Regions from separate parts of the Homo sapiens genome. Here all the other regions are linked to region 1. The links are contacts of gene promoters, found by promoter capture Hi-C in blood cells and fetal thymus (Javierre and others, 2016). All regions are on one chromosome and are shown on one strand. Each heading gives the region's core, a stretch centred on a gene start or on the middle of the fragment in contact. The rest is flanking DNA. Distances are from core to core; before and after follow the strand shown. Region 1 holds the start of NUDCD2 (NudC domain containing 2). Region 2 holds the start of SPDL1 (spindle apparatus coiled-coil protein 1). Region 3 has its middle 32 kb from the start of PANK3. Region 4 overlaps PANK3 (pantothenate kinase 3). Region 5 overlaps CLINT1 (clathrin interactor 1). Region 6 overlaps DOCK2 (dedicator of cytokinesis 2). Region 7 has its middle 5.2 kb from the start of PANK3.

The links. Contacts are between HindIII fragments. The CHiCAGO score rates a contact against its expected background, and 5 or more counts as called.
Region 2: a contact is called between the fragment with the promoter of SPDL1 here and the fragment with the promoter of NUDCD2 in region 1, in 2 of 17 cell types (total B cells and total CD8 T cells). The highest score is 8.6, in total B cells.
Region 3: a fragment that was not itself captured here is called in contact with the fragment with the promoter of NUDCD2 in region 1 in 1 of 17 cell types (naive CD8 T cells); the score reaches 9.9 in naive CD8 T cells.
Region 4: a fragment that was not itself captured here is called in contact with the fragment with the promoter of NUDCD2 in region 1 in 1 of 17 cell types (total CD8 T cells); the score reaches 7.0 in total CD8 T cells.
Region 5: a contact is called between a fragment that was not itself captured here and the fragment with the promoter of NUDCD2 in region 1, in 3 of 17 cell types (total CD8 T cells, activated CD4 T cells and naive CD4 T cells). The highest score is 9.3, in total CD8 T cells.
Region 6: a fragment that was not itself captured here is called in contact with the fragment with the promoter of NUDCD2 in region 1 in 2 of 17 cell types (non-activated CD4 T cells and naive CD4 T cells); the score reaches 6.7 in non-activated CD4 T cells.
Region 7: a fragment that was not itself captured here is called in contact with the fragment with the promoter of NUDCD2 in region 1 in 4 of 17 cell types (naive CD8 T cells, total CD4 T cells, activated CD4 T cells and 1 more); the score reaches 13.2 in naive CD8 T cells.

What each region holds. Positions count from the first base shown.
Region 1 is chr5:163,458,805-163,461,504 of GRCh38, forward strand. It overlaps NUDCD2 (NudC domain containing 2), which reads right to left and starts at 1,298. Exons shown (of 4, transcript NM_145266.6): 1 at 1,058-1,298. The coding sequence starts at 1,246. It overlaps HMMR (hyaluronan mediated motility receptor), which reads left to right and starts at 1,828. Exons shown (of 18, transcript NM_001142556.2): 1 at 1,828-1,934. The coding sequence starts at 1,889. RefSeq lists enhancers at 1,015-1,264, 2,015-2,074 and a silencer at 1,595-1,684. The HindIII fragment of the contact is 3,644 bases long and covers 569-2,700 here.
Region 2 is chr5:169,582,523-169,585,222 of GRCh38, forward strand. It overlaps SPDL1 (spindle apparatus coiled-coil protein 1), which reads left to right and starts at 1,251. Exons shown (of 12, transcript NM_017785.5): 1 at 1,251-1,367. LOC105377714 (a long non-coding RNA gene) reads right to left here and starts at 1,139. Exons shown (of 3, transcript XR_941200.3): 1 at 861-1,139. RefSeq lists an enhancer at 878-1,878. The HindIII fragment of the contact is 7,098 bases long and covers 1-2,700 here.
Region 3 is chr5:168,609,824-168,612,523 of GRCh38, forward strand. No RefSeq gene overlaps it. Among named protein-coding and RNA genes, the nearest start is that of PANK3, 32 kb to the left of the region's middle. The HindIII fragment of the contact is 229 bases long and covers 1,221-1,449 here.
Region 4 is chr5:168,566,915-168,569,614 of GRCh38, forward strand. It overlaps PANK3 (pantothenate kinase 3), which reads right to left. Exons shown (of 7, transcript NM_024594.4): 2 at 1,732-2,084. Among named protein-coding and RNA genes, the nearest start is that of MIR103A1, 7.3 kb to the left of the region's middle. The HindIII fragment of the contact is 335 bases long and covers 1,091-1,425 here.
Region 5 is chr5:157,856,278-157,858,977 of GRCh38, forward strand. It overlaps CLINT1 (clathrin interactor 1), which reads right to left. Exons shown (of 12, transcript NM_014666.4): 1 at 2,653-2,700. The coding sequence starts at 2,693. Among named protein-coding and RNA genes, the nearest start is that of CLINT1, 1.5 kb to the right of the region's middle. RefSeq lists an enhancer at 2,498-2,700. The HindIII fragment of the contact is 223 bases long and covers 1,213-1,435 here.
Region 6 is chr5:169,639,352-169,642,051 of GRCh38, forward strand. All of the region lies in intron 1 of DOCK2 (dedicator of cytokinesis 2), which reads left to right. Among named protein-coding and RNA genes, the nearest start is that of DOCK2, 3.4 kb to the left of the region's middle. The HindIII fragment of the contact is 397 bases long and covers 1,053-1,449 here.
Region 7 is chr5:168,583,253-168,585,952 of GRCh38, forward strand. No RefSeq gene overlaps it. Among named protein-coding and RNA genes, the nearest start is that of PANK3, 5.2 kb to the left of the region's middle. RefSeq lists a silencer at 590-639. The HindIII fragment of the contact is 2,467 bases long and covers 39-2,505 here.

The DNA of each region.
Region 1 (2,700 bases), core at 48-2,547:
TTTACTAATTTATAATCGTAATCTAAAACCATTGTTGAGGAAACTATGAATTGTACAATTCAGAAAAGTAACTGAGATCCAAGCTGACATAATGTCTTTCACACGAATCTTGAGGCACTCAAAGCACCTCCATATACTGTAATATATATAATAGCTAATAGCTAACATATAGTATGAACTTATTACATACCAGTGAATACTCCAAGCTCTTCATACACGTGAATACCATGTTAAGCTCAAAACAATCCCATGAGAAGGGTACTATAACTACCTTATCTTGTGGATAAGGAAGATATAGAGACACTGAACAATCTCTCGCCCAAGTTTACAAAACTAGGAAACAAGTAGTCTCCCTTCACCATATTACACTGCCATCAAACATCTTGGGCATCTAACCTGAGAACTAAATCTAATTTCAACCTGTTAGTTTAATTATACACTTAACAAAGAAAAAGCGGGTCCAGATCCAAAGAGCATTGGTGAAAAGAAATAAAAGGAGTACTACTTATTTTATGCACACACCTCTTCACCACCTGCTTGACCACTCCACAAACATGCAGGATTTTCAAGCTTTTAGATGAGAAAACTAATCACCTGACATCATCTCTAAATTCTCTGCCCGTTATTCTATCCCTATTTTCTTTGTTGTCCTTTCCTATATTTATCTATTTATGAATTACGCTTCCGTACAGGAGCTTAACCTCTCCACTGCAGGTACGTTATCTGTTGTCTTCCTGCCTGTCTTCAGTGCACGGAAGAAATATTTGTTCCTTTAGCAACCTAGTTAATCTGTTCCCAGCTGAAGCCCGTCAGAGAAGCAGAAGCAGCAGTCTTAGTTTGAAAACTAAACACGAAAATAGGCTCCTCAAATTTCCACAACTCAGCACCTGCCCTGAAGAGGCGGGGGCTCTGACCAGACCCAAACCTGGTCAGTGTTATCCTCTTTCTCTTTCTGCCAGCCACAGGAGCCGTCGGGACACCCAACAGTCGTTCAGGGAAACGGGGCTGGGGGCGTCTGGGAAGAGGAAACTGAACACAAGCCCCGAGCTGCCGCTACCTTGAGGATCTCGCGGCCGCCCACCGACAGCGCCACATGCCGGCTCTGGAGGCCGCACTGGATATCCTGGGCGCGCGTGCCTGGCGGCACCTGAACTTCAATGAACACCTCCTCCAAGGTCTGGTACCACTGGCCCCACGGGGTCCCGCACGGTACCACCCCACTCCGCTCCTCAAACGGGGCCGACATAATCCAGTCCCTCCCGGCCGCGGCCGCACCAGGCGGAGCCGAGCGCACGCGCGGAATCCCACGCTTAGGCTACGCCTCGGCCTCTCCGCTCGGGTCACTGCGCATGCGCAGGAACGCAAGCTAGCGCTTTGGTGTGCGTGTTCGTTTTTCCCTTTGAATGGCCGTTTACGGCACCGGCAGGCCCCGGATGAAAGAACTGAAATCCAGAAAAGTTCACATGCAACGAACAATGGGACAGAATTGGAACCAGTGAAGCCGGAACTCACTACACCGTCCCCTAAGTGACGCCAAAATGCACTTTCTAACGTCTCCGGAGGGAAGTGCGCTTGCGCAAATGCTAGGTTACACTTGAGTAACTCCGGGAATGACTGGGTGGGTGGGGCGGGGAACAGTAACGGTCTCCTATTGGATGGCAGCCTAAACTCGCAGGCCAGCTAATTGGACGCAATCAGAACCCAGCATTCTTTCTTCGTGTTCCTGTGCGGGATTGGTGTGCCCAGGGGTTTGGCTTTCCAATTGGCTAACGCCGGGGTGGGTGGGGAATGTGGGGAGATTTGAATTTGAAACCGGTAGGGAGTGATAATCCGCATTCAGTTGTCGAGGAGTGCCAGTCACCTTCAGTTTCTGGAGCTGGCCGTCAACATGTCCTTTCCTAAGGCGCCCTTGAAACGATTCAATGACCCTTCTGGTGCGTAAGGGGGAAAGAGCTGGGGGACGGGAGACGCCCTAACGCCCTTTGCCTCTTTCAGCTCCCTTCTTGGGAGGCAAGCAGGAGGCGATTTTAGGGTCGGGCTGGGGCTCATTCAGTTGATTGATTTTTCTCAAATATGCTCTAAGCATCTGTTACATGCCAAGCACTAATCAGGATGCTAAGGATACCGCAGTGAAACAGTCTCCGCCCCGTGGGGCTTACATTCAGGCGGGGAATACTGTCAATAAACAGCGGTAATGGAGAAACTACAGCAGGGCGAAGGGAATGGACCCGAGACGTTGGTAGCTACTTGATTTTCAAGTCCGAGAGGGCCTCACTGATAAGAACACTGGAGTATTACTTGTAGTCTGAACTTGTGCATTTCTTTTGTGTATTCCATTTGGGCATAAAAGAAGGAAGATTAGTAAAGGCAGTTTATGGGTGTAAAATTAGAGCAGCAGCACTTATTGAAAACATAAACAATGAAGTTATGGCTGATATTGACCACTTATACCTCAAGCACCGTACTAAGGCTTTACATCGATTATTAGTTATGTTAATTTCCCACCAACTCTAAGGGGTAATCCTATTATTATTTTATTGATAAAAAGACTGAGACTTAAATTTGCTCAGTGCTACATTACCAAAGTGACCGGACTGGAATATGAACCCAGCCCCCATCGTGTGCTCTTAACACCGCAATGCACAGCACAGTAACCAGGAAGCCTTAGCTGTGTTTGGTAGGCACTCATCATTTAAGATG
Region 2 (2,700 bases), core at 1-2,500, 6.1 Mb after region 1:
GATCAACCCTTTGAGTCTGGCTTAGCTCAGGCAGAAATTGTAGTCTGCAAAAGAAACTGAGAAGAAGAGGGCAAGGAGAGTGTGGCATCCCAAGACATAAAGACTCAAATCAATGAGAGCAAGCAACTCTGTCAAATTTCACCAGAAGTGAGGACTAAATATTGACTACCGAATTTTGCAAGGTAGGAATCACTGGTAAACCTAACAAGAGCCACTTCATAGTATTGGTTGGGACCAAATCCTGGTTAAAGTGGGAAAAACAAACAAAAGAACAAAAGGTAAGAAAATGGAGATAATGGATGTAAAGATTTTTTTTCCCCAGAAATTTTGTTATAAAGAGAAGAAAACAAATGGGGTGGTTGCCGATTGGTGTCAAGGAGGATTTTTTAAAAAATGAAATCATGAAATGATTTTATGGCAATCACTGCAGCATGTTTATGAACTGATAGGGAAGATCCAATAGAGAAGAAAAAACTGAAGATGCAAAAAAGAGCAGTTAGAGCCAAGTTCTCAAATAGGCAAGAAAAGATGGGCTCGAAAGAACGACATGATTCATGTAACAGTTACTAGGACTCATCAGTGCTCATTAAATGTTATCTATTATTATTTCTGATCGCTTCAATTTTTGAATAGGCATCAGGGTTACAAAATATTATTATTAAAAACACATGCAAACAGCTTGGACTCTAAGACTGCATTCAATTCTAGTTCTACCACTTGGACAAGGCACTTTTTTTCTTCGGGCTTTTTCTCTGTAGAAAACGAGGAGTAATATCTGCCTCATAAGGCTGCGGGCTTAACTGAGATAATCTGTAAACTTTAACACATGGTGGGAACTTAAATATTAACGCCAGTATTACCACTGGTAGGGTGCATGAGATCGCACGATGGTGCCAAAGGTGTCTCTCCACCGCCCAGCCCAGCGACACTGTTCCCCTAGAAGGCATTGTCGTAAAAACAAAAAAAAAAAAAAAACGAACAAACAAAACACCAAAACACGGAAACTAAAAGCAAATACTTAAAAGACATGCAGGAAACCAGCCCAAGGAAAAATTTATGTGGAGCCACGTCTGCGCCTGCGCCTGCGCCAAGCCCACGGCGCGCCACTTGCACATGCGCAGTAGCTGTAGGAGGGGGTGGGCGCTCCATTGGGCGTTTCTCTTGGTTTTTCCTTTCCGCGCGGCTTGGGCGGACGTCTCGTGAGACGTGGGACTTCTCGCGGGAACTGCATTCAAATATCCCAGGCGCTTACTCGAGAGCTAGCTGAGCGAATGGGCCGGCGACTGTGGAGTTAGCGTCCTCAATGTGGACGCCCTGAGCTCCCATTAGGAGCCGCTGGCTGCGGCAGCAGGGGACTAGCGTGAGAGGTAGGGGCAAGGGGCCTGGTGGGAGGTGGGTGTGGAGAGCGGCAGTGGGGAGAGTCGAACAGGCCCTAAAGAAAGCTAGGGGCCGGGGTCTCGGCCGAGGCCTTTAGCTGAAACATCTCCTTCCCCGGAACCCTGGGGTCTTATACACTGGGTTCCGAGCCGGTCTTATCTTCCGCTGGACCACCTCGCCGCCCTCAGGGATTCTGGACAAATATGGAACGTTGGGTCGGTTGCCGGGTCCTCAAAATTATAACCGCCACTGGATCTGCGCTGTGCGGTACGGTAGCCTCTAGCCCGAACTAAGAAATGGTGCAGATGGGAGATACATATTGGGTTTCAGAGATAGCGCATAAGGAGTAATATCTCATTAATAATTTTTATAATGATTACATGTTGAAATGATGTTTTGAGTGTATTTGTTTAAATATGTAAATTAATTTTTCATCTTTGTTTACTTTTTAAATCATGATGGCTCCTAGAACATTTAAAATCACGTACATGACTCGCGTTATATTTCTGCTGGACAGCACTGCCCCAGCCGTGTGTCAGATTCTACCCTAATTGCTTTTCATTCGTTATCTCATTTAATCCTTTCAGTAACCGATTAGGTGGGTGTTATTGTGCTTGTTTTTATAGATGATTAAACCAGAAATTAAATAACTTGTCCAAGTTCATGCAGCCAGTGAGTAGTGGAGGCGGGGTAAGAACTCAGGCAGTTTGATTCCCAGAGTTTCCTGTGTCCCAAATGCTTTGTGTGTGCTATATTTTTGAGAAGCAGGACAGGAAAAATGGTTGCAGCACCATGGTTTCTAGGTAGATTCTAGTTCCCATCACACTTCGCGTCTTAACTTGCGGGTAACCCTAAGCAAGTTACTTAAAACTTTCTATGCCTCAGCTTGCATGTGTAAAATGAGGGAAATACCTTCAACCTCTTGAAGTTGTTGAGAAGATTGAATAAGAATGTGTATAAAGCGGCCGGGTGCGGTGGCTCACGCCTGTAATCCCAGCTACTCGGGAGGCTGAGGCAGGAGAATGGCGTGAACCCGGGAAGCGGAGCTTGCAGTGAGCCGAGATTGCGCCACTGCAGTCCGCAGTCTGGCCTGGGCGACAGAGCGAGACTCCGTCTCAAAAAAAAAAAAAAGAATGTGTATAAAGCACCAAGCACAATGTCTGTCACACATTAGTAGTTTTTAATCAACCACGGCTATCTCTCTTTGTAGATTGATAGGTTAACTCTTTCTCATCCATTAGACCTCTGCTGAAAAGTTACTTCCTCAGGAAAATTTTTTTGTCCATGTTCCCTTCTACGCGCTGCCCCCCAGATTAGGACAGC
Region 3 (2,700 bases), core at 85-2,584, 5.2 Mb after region 1:
GTCTTACATCTGTATTGCAGAATTTTGGTGAGTAAAACATCTAGCCCAGGTTATAGCTCACAGTTGGCACTCAATTAATGCCAATTATCTTTCTTCTTCTCATTTTACAACTACATATTTAGCCCACGCCTCTATTTACTCACATGTGGCTTGAGGCCAAAGCTGTCAATTAGCCTTTTAAGTTTCTCAAGGATAGGAAGGTAGGGCACAGAATGAATGAGAGCATTCATTAAATGCTCACTTTAGAAGGCACAATCCTCCTGCATTCCAAGAAGCTATGTATTAATTGGAACAGAAATATGCAGGATGAAATAAACAGACAAGAGGCTTGGAGCTGCCATCTTAACAGCAGGAGATGTAACCAATCCTTAGGAATGTCTGCTTCTCCTAATCCTTAATTTTGACGATGATGAAAGGAGGGAAGATGACGGCAGCTAGTACTCATTGAGCACTTATTCTTTTCTAGGCAAGGGGCTACCACTTGACATGCCATATTTCTTTTAATCTTCTTAATAACCCAGTGAGGGAGATATAATCATCCCTATTTTACAGATAAGGAAAGTGAGTCACAGAGAAGGAAACTTCTGAAGTCACTAGCTAGTAAGAGGCATGCTGGGATTAGGATGGAAGTTGGCCTGAGTACAGAGCCCCAGATCATAAGCAGCACCCCACTATATCACATGCACTTTCCTAGAGTCAAAAAGCCAAGGAAAGGCCCTGTGAGAGGGCTTCTTAGAGAAATATGGAATCTGTTACCACTTTTATAAAAAGGTGTTTACCTATCAGCTATAAATCTCCCCTAAAGGGAATAATTTTTGAAAATCTTTCATACTGTTCCTGAGAGGTTTTTCTTTTTCTTTCTTTTTTTTTTTTTTTTTGACAAAGTCTCGTTCTATTGCCCAGCAATTCTCCTGCCTCAGCCTCCTGAGTAGCTGGAATTACAGGTGCCCGCCACCATGCCTGGCTAATTTTTGTATTTTTAGTAGAGATGGGGTTTCACCATGTTGGCCAGGCTGGTCTTGAATTCCTGACCTCAAGTGATCCGCCTGCCTCAGCTTCCCAAAGTGCTGGGATTACAGGTCCTAAGAGTTTTTTTAATGAGTGAGAAAATATTTATTTTGTATGGTTAATAAACTAGACACCTACAGTGGCTTCTTAGTCATATTGAGATATTACTATCTCAGTGGTGAGAAGAAAAAAAATCACTTAGAAAAAGAAAAAGCTTAGGAGTGTCATCTCTGGTTATTAGGAAGGATTGTTTTTCTATTTTACGTTTTCTAAAAATTCTGTGGTTTTTGTTTCTGATGTCGGTAATCAGGAAGCAAAAAGTTAAAGACAATTGGGATAAAGGATCTTCTGCGTTGTGAGCAATTCGAGATCTACAGCTGTATGGAGAATAAAAACTTATAGAACCGAATGATGCAGACTCTGGGGCCCAAGAACCTTAGAAGCTTTTCTTGTCTGTTAAGATAGGCTAAAGCCATGAACAAGTGTGCCTTAGAAAAGAAATTTTCACTAGGACATTCACAGCATTCCTGATGACTGACATCGCTTCAAGTTCAGTGAATTATTCTAACAGGCATAGCATAAGTACAAAGTGACCCAGTTGTGAATATTCAGGGCTGGGACGCCACGAGAGGAAATTGACGTTGGGGACAATCTGTGGGAGCAACATATTCTCCTATAGATGAAATGCCAGGGAGAATGGTGGGCTGCTTCTCACCAGCTAGTTTTCTGTATGTCCCCAGAATGTCTAATGTTTTCTCACAGTAGAGCTCTTAAAGAAAAGCTCTGTTACCTTTTATTGAAAATTCTGGACTCAAATGCTATAATTAAAAGAAAAAAATTAATATGCCCTATACTGACCTTTGAAATACTTGGATATAGAAGGGAATAGGGCAAGATCTCAGCTGTCATAAAGTTCATATTCTAGGTATACATCATTTTTGTTAAGTCACTAGAGATTGCATTACACGAACTAGATAAATATTCCCTTTATTCAGTCAATAAGTGTGTTATGACACTTTTTTGCAGTGGTGTGATCATAGCTCACCACAGCCTTGAACTTCTGGGCTCAAGTGATCCTCTAGCCTCAGCCTCCTGAGTTGTTAGGATTACAGGTGTGAACGACCGCACTTGGCCCTCTTTTTTCTTTTGTAATTAGCTTTTCTTTCTCGTTAACGAGGTGCTTCGATTTTTGGCATTTGCTCAGTTTTCAAGGTACTTACTGCTTTTTGTTCCCAGTGTTTCCACAGATTTGTCAAATGCCTATCAAGAAGATTTATAAATGTTCGAAGACATCAGATTATCAATTCCATGCTTCCCCCTCTCTCCACACCCCCCAAGAGACCTCTCTTCTGCTTCCCTACATCTTCTTTCTCGAATCTAGCCAGCTGATACCTGCCACATGTGTGGGTTAGCCCTCTATTTTCTCTTCCACTGTGTTACTGCATTCCTTATACATTCTTCATGCTTCCATAAGAAAGATTGCTTGAGAGATCTTGCATAACTAAGTAGGTGGCTGGACTTCCCTCACACTTGATTGATAGCTGGGCTTTGCAGAGAGGTCGTGATTGAAAATAATTTTTCATAAGAATTTTCAAGCCTGTTGAAAAATCGGTTGCAATTATGGCTCCCTTTCCTTTATATGTGAGTTTTTTTTTTTTCGCTCTCTGGGTTCTTTTAGGATTGTTTCTTTAT
Region 4 (2,700 bases), core at 8-2,507, 5.1 Mb after region 1:
GTATTTTTAGTAGAGATGAGGTTTCACCATCATTGGTCAGGCTGGTCTCCAGCTCCTAACCTCAAGTGATCCGCCCACCTTGGCTTCCCAAAGTGCTGGAATTACAGGCGTGAGCCACTGTGCCCAACCCACGTAGTTTTAAATATATACTAAATTTGCTAGGAATTGAACCACCACATAAAGCAAGGGAAAATTGTACTTCTTACTGTTTGGAATTTTACCAAGTGTTTGTTTAGCATGTTGGAGGGTCATGTCACCAACAGCAATGCCATTTATGGTATCTTATTTTCCAACAGAACATACCATATCAATCTGGCATGTGTAGCTTTGGTATTCATGATCAATCTATGCATAGGTGCAAGCATATAACTACTTCATGATGTCCTCTGGAATGATCATACTGTTTGTTAATCTACCCACGGATAGATTAATTTCTGATTAATAACTGATACCTTAATCTCCTGTCTTTATATTATAGTTTGAGTACTAGTTTGAAATGATTACATTCATCATTTCAGGTTAGTAAAAAGCGTATTATAAGACACCGTTTATAAAACATTGCAGCTTAGATATCACTTCCTCTGGGAACCTCTTCAACTCTCTAGCTGTTGTTACTCCTCTGTGTTCCCAAGGCACCTCTTTTCATACAGTACTACAGATCTTTACCTCAAATTATATGGGTCTCGCTTCTATGAGCCATTTAAGTTATTTATATTCCTTCTGAGACAGGGTCTCACTGTCACCCATGCTGGAGTGCAATGGCTCAATCACAGCTCACTGCAGCCTCAATCTCAAGAGCTCAAGCAATCCTCCCACTTCATCAGCCTCTTGAGTGGCTGGGACTACAAGCACAGGCCACTATGCTGAGCTAATTTTTTTATTTTTTGTAGAGACGGGGTCCCACTATATTGCCCAGGCTGGTCTCCAACTCCTAGCCTCAAGTGATCCTCCCACGTCAGCCTTTATATTCCATTAACAGTATTTTCTTATGATTTTCAGAAATTAAATTATTCACATTTACATTTTCAAGAAAAACAAATTTCAGTGGTCCTAAACAGAGCCATTCTTTATTCTAATAGAAAAGACTAGAAGCTTGGCAAACCACTCTTTGAACTCTCATTCTAATGGAAAAGACTAGAAGATGGCAAACTGCTAACAGCACATAACTCAAACCAATACTCATAGTTCTCCTGCCAGATCCATTCAAATCACCCCATTTGACACAGGAACATGGCAGGATTAACAGCATAAAAACAGAAAAAAAAGGGTAACAGATTTTCATTCAGGTGTCCATTATACTAACCAAAAGACATTGGTTTCCAGACTTAGGGTTTGGGAAGGAGATGGCCCTGGAAGATTAATATTATTTGAATAAGTAATATTCCAAAAACCATGTAAATGTAGGACAATAGTGAAAATAATTCAAGCTTCATTTATATCTGGCTTTGTACACTGCCAAATTCATTAAAGTCCCCAAATCCCCTTTTTATTGTAGCTTTGTAGTACAGCCCTAAACAAGTTTTACCAAATATTATGTGCAACAACATGACCAAATCCGGGCAATTTTTACTCATCTCATAAACGTGTTTAAAACGCCCCAAGTGAAAGGCAACCATGGATACATATTTCCCACTGCATGTGCAGGGAGAATTAAGGAACATGCTAGATGGAAACCTACTCTCATATTTAAAAACAGGTATCAATTTTCAGTTTTGAGTAAAAGATACCTACTGTGCGAAAATCTTTTTCAAACTTGTAAGCACCACCTCCTGTAGCACATAGCACCGTCTGCAATGTTGAGAAGTTTTTATCTCTTCCCATTTGGATAAAAGTAGGCAGGTCCTGGGTTGGAAACCTGATAAAGTGCAAGTTCCCTCTTCGGCCAAAAAGTGTTAAATCTTTCAGTTCAAGGTGTACATCCCGAATGCCGGTGGATCCATATGCCACGTTAGAAGTCAAATATTTCCGAATACTTTTTAAACTCTCAACTTCTTCTTGCTCTTCCTCTGCTGTGATATCAATAGGTTCAAAGTACGAGAGCTTTACTAGAGTTCCCCCAATGTCCATGCCAAACCATGGGAAAGCTATGGGAGGAAAAAAAAAAAAAAAAAAAAAAATATATATATATATATATATCCATTTTAGAAACACAAATTAAAAACCAGTTAGCCACAAACTTCATTTACTCTGAATCATGCATTCAGGCAATAATATGTATTGGGTAAGACACATGTTCCATGTGGAACTTACCTTTTTCCCTTCAAAGTTTTTTTTTTTTTTTTTTTTTTGAGATGGAGTCTCGCTCTGTTGCCCAGGCTGGAGTGCAGTGGCGCGATCTTGGCTCACTGCAAACTCCGCCTCCCGGGTTCACGCCATTCTCCTGCCTCAGCCTCCCGAGTAGCTGGGACTACAGGTGCCCACCACCACGCCTGCCTAATTTTTTTTTTTTTTGTATTTTTAGTAGAGACGGGGTTTCACCGTGTTAGCCAGGATGGTCTCGATCTCCTGACCTTGTGATCCGCCTGCCTCTGCCTCCCAAAGTGCTGGGATTGCAGGCGTGAGCCACCGCGCTCGGCCCTTCAAAGTTTTATTAATATATTTTCTAAAAACGTATAGGGTGCTTAGAGTTGACCCAGGATCTTTTAATTCCTGGCCTGGTAGGCAACCCCTTTTCATTTACTAAATACCATGTGCTCCAGG
Region 5 (2,700 bases), core at 74-2,573, 5.6 Mb before region 1:
AAGGTGGAAAAAGTCTTACTCTAGCCAGGTCCCCTCATTTTACAGATAAGGAAGGCAAAGTCTGGAGATTCATGTGATTCTGCCTCAAATCATACATACAGCTAATTAAAAACGTAATGCCAGAATATGAACCAGATAGTTAAACCCCTAACCTTTCTCTCATAGAAGCCCTCATTCTATTGATCCATCTATCTGAATAGCCCTTAATCACGTCACTGCTTCTTCATTTGCAAGTTCCTTCATCATTTTATACCTCTGATAATCAGACCAACCATTCTATGGATGCACGTCTATTATGGCATTATAAGGTGCACAGTCTAACAGATCCACGGTTCTGTAAGATGCTTACATTTGGGGGGAAGAATTTCTTCTCTTCTTGCCAGTGAAAAGATGAAAATTAAAATCCCGAGTACTCATCAGTAAATCAACCTCATGTTCTAATCTTAATATGTGTCAGACACCCACAAAAGCCTTAAAAAGTCTTTGGTGACAACATTCTTCTATGTTCTTGAATAATTTGGTTCAAGTCTACATCCTAAATTGGGTAGTAAAAAGATAGATAATATTTTTCAACAATAGCTTTTCCTTTAGATAACTACTTACATGGCAAATTTAACCTAAAGCACGTGAAGATTAGTAACAAGTGTGATAAGCAAATATGAAAGGTACAACAATAGTAGGAATATTGCCTCGATTTCTGTCTTACGAACAATGTACAGCCTCTTCAAATTTTTGAGTACCACAAATTTGGTCCTCTAAGAGAACAAGGTGTTTCTTAATGGTTTTATTCTTCTGACCTCTGACTGAGAAATAAGGAGGCAGTGCCAGGCACGGTGATGCATGCCTGTAGTCCTGGCCACTTGGGAGGCTGAGGTGGGAGGATCACTTGAGCCCAGGAGTTGGAGGGTGCAGTGAGTTATGAACACACAAAAGAATGAGACCCCATCAAAAAAAAAAAAAAAAAAGGTAGCTTTTAGTCTTCTTTTGGCCTTTAAAAAACTATTTAAGTTGATATCCTAATCTTTACACAATATACTAAAAAAATGCCAATGAACCTAGATCTGGAAAAGATCTAGTTTATTTCATCTTCGGTAAGCAAAAGCAAAGAATATATAAATAGCTAAATAGTCCGAAATAAATAGCTGAAGCCTTAATAGCCAAATGAGTTGTTATAAAGGAAAATTATTAAAGCAAATCACTTTTCAAACTTGAAGCTTCTTTCTTAAAGAGGTTTATTTCACTCTAAATGCAAAACATTTGCTAGTTTCAAAAGTACACTAATATAAACATATTCTGTTAAGGGCTTTATATGCAATACAATCCCTTAACCCTTAAGCCTCACAACAACATTCTAAGGTAGGTATCGTTGCATTTTCATTTTGTACCAGAGAAAACTAGGGCACTGTGAGGATAAGTAACTTCCCCAAGGTTATAAAGCTTGAACCCAGCTTTGCAGGTTCTGAAACCTGTGCTCCTTAGGCACTCTATTGCCTTCTTGGTAGCACAGAAAATATAAAAATATGGTCAAGCTCTAAGTTCTATCTGATGTATCAGACAAGGCACTGGAAATTACTTTGTTTCCTGGTGTCAAGAAAACAGTTTGCTATCTATACTTCCTGATTTTAGGTTAGGTGGGTGGCACAAATCAACTGTTTTTCTCACCACACTTATTGCATAATCATTAAAGCCCCAAAGGAAGAGGACTGCTTAAATTCTTAAACTTTATTTCCTGCTGGCCTAGAAGACCTTACTTAACCACTGTTATACCTGATATACTCATTTTAAAAGTTAAGGTTTTCCTTGTGCAAGTAAGAGACTAAAGTTATTTCAGTCTTAAAGGAAATCAACTACGTACTGGTCGTTTTACCTGCTTTTAAAAGCAGATCAACAGGATATAAACCTGGGTTGTTTTTTTCCTTAAGAGGACATTTCTTAATGACCTCTTAATTTAATCGAATGGAACAAGTAGCACACCAAAAATGATGTGTAGTGGAAAAAGAAACAGAAGAAAAAATCGCAAGAAGTCATATAGTGATCTACTTTCACTAGTGTTAGAAAAGCAAAGGATGAGTGTCTTCTTGAGTAACTTCAGGCTGACCACAATAGCCACTTGTTACACTACTACCACCCACTCCAACACTTCAGGTTCATTAGGAATTAAGAGGAGGCAAGGAAGATAAAAGACACACCCCAACCAGGTCTAAGGTCTCTCCGTACTACACCTTGAGGGACACAGGGAACCAGTGCATTGTGCCCCCCACCCCCAAACCTTCCCTGCTCCCCAGGAGGCAAAGCCCACGGCCTGGGGCCAAGACAGTCCTCCGGCCAGGGCAGTGACCCAGCGCCAAACAACCCGCCCCTTATGACCAAAGCGTCGGCACCCAGGGGTTGGAATAGGGGAAGGGACGGGAAGGCCTGGAAAGGAGAGAAGGGTGGCCAAGAGGATGTTTTTTTTTAAAACGAGGGAGGGTCCCTCCCCAGCCTCGCCAGCGGGGATGAGGCCCGGGGCCGGGAAGGAGCGGGCCGCCGCCATGATGGGGCTGGCAGAGCCAGGGGGCGTGACGTGGGCAACCCCTAGCCCAAGGCCAGCTCCTTCTCCCCCTCCCCCCTCCCCCACGTGGGCCTCGGCCACAACTGCCCCCCGATACTCACGCTTTGTCCACCAGCTCGCGCACCTTCCACATGTTCAACATCGTGCCC
Region 6 (2,700 bases), core at 1-2,500, 6.2 Mb after region 1:
AGAAGGAGGTAGAAAGAGAAACTAACAGTATCAGTTAGGGTTAAGTGTGACAAAGGGTGACAGAAAACCTCCAAAATTGTGGCCTAACCAAGCTGCAAGTTTATTTCTGTCTCTCATGGAAAGCTCAGAAATGGTCTGGGAAGAGGTGGTAAGGTGGCTCATTCTATATCTCACACTGTATCCTTGGCATGTGACTTCTGCCTCCTGAGCCACATAGGCTGCTTAAGCTTCGGTGATCAGGTCCACCTTCCAGCCAGCAAAAAGGATGCAGGGAAAAAGAAGGTCATGGCTTTTCCCTTTAAAGACATTTTCCTGAAGGCACACTTGACATTTCTTCTTACATTACATCCTATTGGCAAAAATGTAATCACATGACTGACTATAGCTGCAAGGGAAGCTAGGAAATGTAGTCTGTAATGTAGGCAGCCATGTACCCAGCTAAAAATTAGGAGTTCTCTTCATAAGTAAGGAGAGGAGGAAGAATATTGAGGATGATATATTAGTTTGCTCAGGCTGCTGTAGCAAAATACCACCAACTGGGTGGCTTAAACAACAGAAATGTATTTTCTCACAGTTCTCGAGGCTGGAAGTCTAAGATCAAAGCACCACCAGGGTTGGCTTGTCTCATGGCCTATCTCCATGGTTTGCAGATGGCTGTCTTGCTGCCTCTTCATTGCTTTCTGTGCAGGCACACCCTTGCTGTCTCTTCCTCCTGTCATGAGAACACCGGTCATATTGGATTAGCATCCCACCCTAAAGGACTCATTTTAACTTAATAATTCCTTTATCTCCGAATATGCACTTATCTCCAAATAGGAGTACCTTCTGAGACACTGATGACTGGGACTTCAGCATAAGAATTTTGGTGGGGACACAAATTCATGACAAATAATCTGTGGTCTCTGGCATGGTATTTTGGGACTATAAAGAGGGCTTCAAGGCAGGAGTCCTGAGATAAAGGGTGAGGGTAGAAAAGAGTTTTGTTTACCCTGAAGCTGAGCCTGCCAGGCAGATTTGTGTGGGACTCTAGTTATTCTTGTAGGGGAGGGAAAAGCTTCTTTCTGCTACTGCATCTTGGGTTTTCTGTAAATTAGACTAACAAAAGACTGATGAACAAGAGAAAACAAACAAGTTTATTAGCATGTACATCCTGCTTACATATGGAGTACTCAAAGGGTTGGTTTGAACTTGAGCTTATACAGCATCTTAGCAAAGGTACAATAAAGGTTTAGAGAAGTAGCAAGTCAAAGGAGGGTTTTAGGCCTCCAAGGGCAGCAAACTGTGGGAAGGGAAATATATGGGGAATCTAATGGAAGATAAAGGGTTATTTGTGCAGGTTCATCTTGGAGCCAACTTTCTGTCTTCTTCATTGCCATAAAACTTCCCTGGGAGAGGGGATTTATGACAGTCCTTATTTCTTAGGAGTTTCTTCAGATAAATATCCAGGAAAGCTTCTTGCTGTACCTGTTGATTCTTATTTGCATCCAGCTCAAAATAATCAATATGCCCTATGGAAGTGGCATATTTTGATCAGAAACCTGTTCTGTATGCAGCTTCTCTCTAGCTATGGTTTTACACCCATGTGTGGTGTTGAGGAATATTTGTTGGTTTCTTCTGAGGGCTGAGGGAAAATCTGTTCCAGGTGTCTCCCCCAGCTGCCAGTGGTTTGCTGGCAATCCTCGGCATTCCTTGGCTTACAAAAGCGTTGCCTTGATCGCTGCCTCCAACTTCACGTGGTATTCTCATTGTGTGCGTGTCTGTCTCCGCATTTCTCCTTTTAAAAAGGACATCCAGTCATATTAGATTAGGGCCCACCCTAGTGACTTCAGTTAAATGTGATTACCTCTGTAAAGACTGTCTCCAAATAAGATCACATTCTGAGGTACTGGGAGTTGAGACTCCAACGTCTCTTTTTTTGGAGGGGGAGGGCACAATTCAAACCATAACAGGCTCTGCAGAAGCAGAGAAGGGATCTTTTTCACAGCTTGGTTGGGGAATATGGAGGAATCCATAACCAGCTCGTGGTTCAGGGATGTGGGTGATGCTGTCGCAGCCCAGGACCCTGGACAGAGCTGATCCATGCACACTGACAGATTTGGCGTGGGCAATGTGTGCTGGTGTCATTTGCACATGGATTTTTGTTGAAGGGAACAAAATCTAGTCAAACCAGTTCAACGAAAATGTGTGTGGTGTGTATCTGTGGGAGAGCAGGGAGAAGTGGTGTATTTTAGGGTCAGAGGAATCACATGGAAATCCAGGAAACAGGAGGAGCCAGGCCTCGGAAAGGGCTTGAACTGAGGCAACCCTGGAAACCTCTGCCTCTCCTCTCATGGCTTCTCAGCTTCTCTGAGCATGCCAACTGTGGTCTCCTTTCTCTCCCCACCACCTCCCTCTGATTGCATTGTTCCTTCGTAACTGATACTCTAATACCACAGTGGTGGCCCCAGCATGCAACCCACCCATCTCTGCACAACCTTGCAGTTCAAGCATCCACTGAATCTTCTCTGTGTTTATTTGTTCAAAGTCCCAACAGAAGAGAGTGGTAGCTTGATTTCCCTTTGTAAGAAAGACAACCCAAGTCAGAGTTCATTGCCAGCCTAATAATGGGCCTCACTCTGGTGAGGGTGCTGCCCCTGGCAGGTCTAATTCTCTGTGACTATGAGGTGGGGTCACATGGCTTGCTACTCCTCTAGCAGGAGC
Region 7 (2,700 bases), core at 22-2,521, 5.1 Mb after region 1:
CCTTGGATTGTTATTCTTATTGTAAAGTAAAGGAAGAAAGCTTTTGTATTTAGACATTTTGCCTAAGGTCATTATTTGGGATCAGACCATAGGTCTAATTAGGTAAAAGATAAGGAACCACATGGCACCAATCAGACCAGATTTTGATTCTAGATTTTATGTTTGATTTACTATTTTGATTCCAGATTTTATGTTTGTTGTTTAGAAAATTTTTTTTTAGGGACGAGGTCTCACTCTGTCACCTGAGCTGAAGTGTAGTGGCGAGATCTCACTCTGTCACCCAAACTGAAGTGTAGTGGCATGATCATTGCTCACTGCAGTCTCCAACTCCTGGGCTCAAGGGATCCTCCTGCCTCAGCCTCCCGAGTAGCTGGGACCATAGGCATGGACCAAAACACCCGGCTAATTTTTTTATTTTTTAATTTTTTGTAGAGATGGGTTCTCACTTTGTTGCCCAGGCTGGTCTCAAACTCTTGGCTTCAAGCCATCCTCCCACCTTCACCTCCCAAAGTGTTGGGGTTACAGGCATGAGCCACCTTGCCTGGCCTTTATTTGTTTTGTTTTGTTTTGTTTTTTATAGAAACATCTTTCTGAGCTACCAGGAATATGACTTGGCAAGTTAGAATCCTGAATGGTAGACTTAACCTGCACTTCCTCTTTTATTTCCTGTTATTACTCTATCCCACACAGAACCTTAGATATTCTAGAATGGTCCTGTTTTCCACAGTTTTATTGGATGAGAGTCGTGATTTCTGATCTGACATGGCTTCAAAGAATACTCACTATCTAATATGATTTACCTGCTGCTTTTATAAATCTTATGGGCACACCAAGTTCTCTGACAACATATATCTTTTGGTTGTTTCTGGTTCTCTTTGACAGTATCAGCTTGGAAGTCAAAGGGGAATTGATACGTATGTCTTGTGATAGTCTGGCCATGGTCTGAAAGGAAGAAGAGCTAGAAATTAGAAGCCACAGAAATTTGGGTAAGTTTTGGGCACAGGCTCTTGCTAGTTTCTGTGGCCATAGAGATGAGTGTACACATGGATGACTTAGCTTAAAAGTTAGGCTATACACCTGTGATATTACTAGAGTTAACCATCTATTTGCTGTTTGTTCAAAGATGAGACTACTCTTTGGTCTGTTATGCCAGAAAATCACTGAACTTTGAATAGTGAGAATTCCTGTCTCAGATCAGCCATACAATTGCTGTGTGACCCTGGGAAAGTCCTTTTTCTCTCTGGGCTTCAAATTACCCATCTGCAAAATGAGATGACTGTTGGAGATTTTTTTTTTCTCTTTTTGAGACGGAGTCTCGCTGTGTCGCCCAGGCTGGAGTGCAGTGGCATGATCTGTGCTCACTGCAAGCTCCGCCTCTCGGGTTCACGCCATTCTCCTACCTCAGCCTCCCCAGTAGCTGGGACTACAGGCACCCACCACCATGCCTGGCTAATTTTTTGTATTCTTAGTAGAGGTGGGGTTTCACCGTGTTAGCCAGGCTGGTCTCGATCTCCTGACCTTGTGATCCGCCCGCCTCAGCCTCCCAAAGTGCTGGGATTACTGGGATTACTGGCGTAAGCCACTGTGCCCGGCCTAATATCTGCCTCCCAGGTTCAAGCGATTCTCCTGCTGCAGCCTCCTGCGTAGCTGGGACTGCAGTTGCCTGCCACCACGCCTCCCTAATTTTTGTATTTTTAGTAGCGACGGGGTTTCACCTTGCTGGCCAGGCTGGTCTCAAACTCCTAACCTCAGGTGATCTGCCTGCCTTGGCTTCCCAAAGTGCTGGGATTACAGGCATGAGCCACTGTGCCTGGTTTTTTTATTTTTATTTTTTTGAGACAGAGTTTTGCTCACCCTGGCATGAGCCATGGTGCCCAGCCCAGAGATTTCTTTCATCTCTACTTTTTGAATTTCACTAAGAACCTGTTCCCTTTTCAGGACCAATGTGAAGTGTGTTCAGTTCACTAAGAACCTGTTCCCTTTTCAGGACCAATGTGAAATGTGTTCAGCCATGTGTTTCCTAAAGTTTTCACCAGTGTGATTGAAACTGACAGGTCATCCTGTTTTAGTTTGTGGCCACTCTTCCTTCTGCAGCCTGCGTTGGCTTTCAGCCCCAGTCCCTCCTCCTAGCACCATCTGGTTAATTGCATTTTCTCTCTTTTCTAGCATGTCCTCAAAACCCATTCCTGGCAGAGTGAATGCAGGAGCTGGGAAAAGCATCTAAAGGGGCCAAGAGACTGTCTTCTTGTCTCAATATTTATTGTCTATGAAACACAATAAATCCAGCCCATCATGCAAAATGATAGAGGAGACCTGACACATCTTCATTTTGCCTTTACTGAGCGGGTATCCACAGAGACAGGTGGTGAGTTGTACCTAATGATGACTATAGGTCTCCTGGTATGAATAAACACACACACACACATGCGCACACACGCACACATGCACACATGCACACACACACACATACACTCACACCCTACACACCCTTCAAAGCCCAGATGAAGCTTTTAACAGCGGATTCTGTCTCTAATTAAATGGTCAAGAACATACTTCAGTCAGTCATTGGATCCACAAACTCAAATAAGCTAGGGGAGAACATCATGAATATTAGCATCCTCAGTCATCATCCTTGTCATCATCATTATCAGCAGCAGCAGCAGCATCGTCATCATCACTATCATGATAGTGGAAGCACAA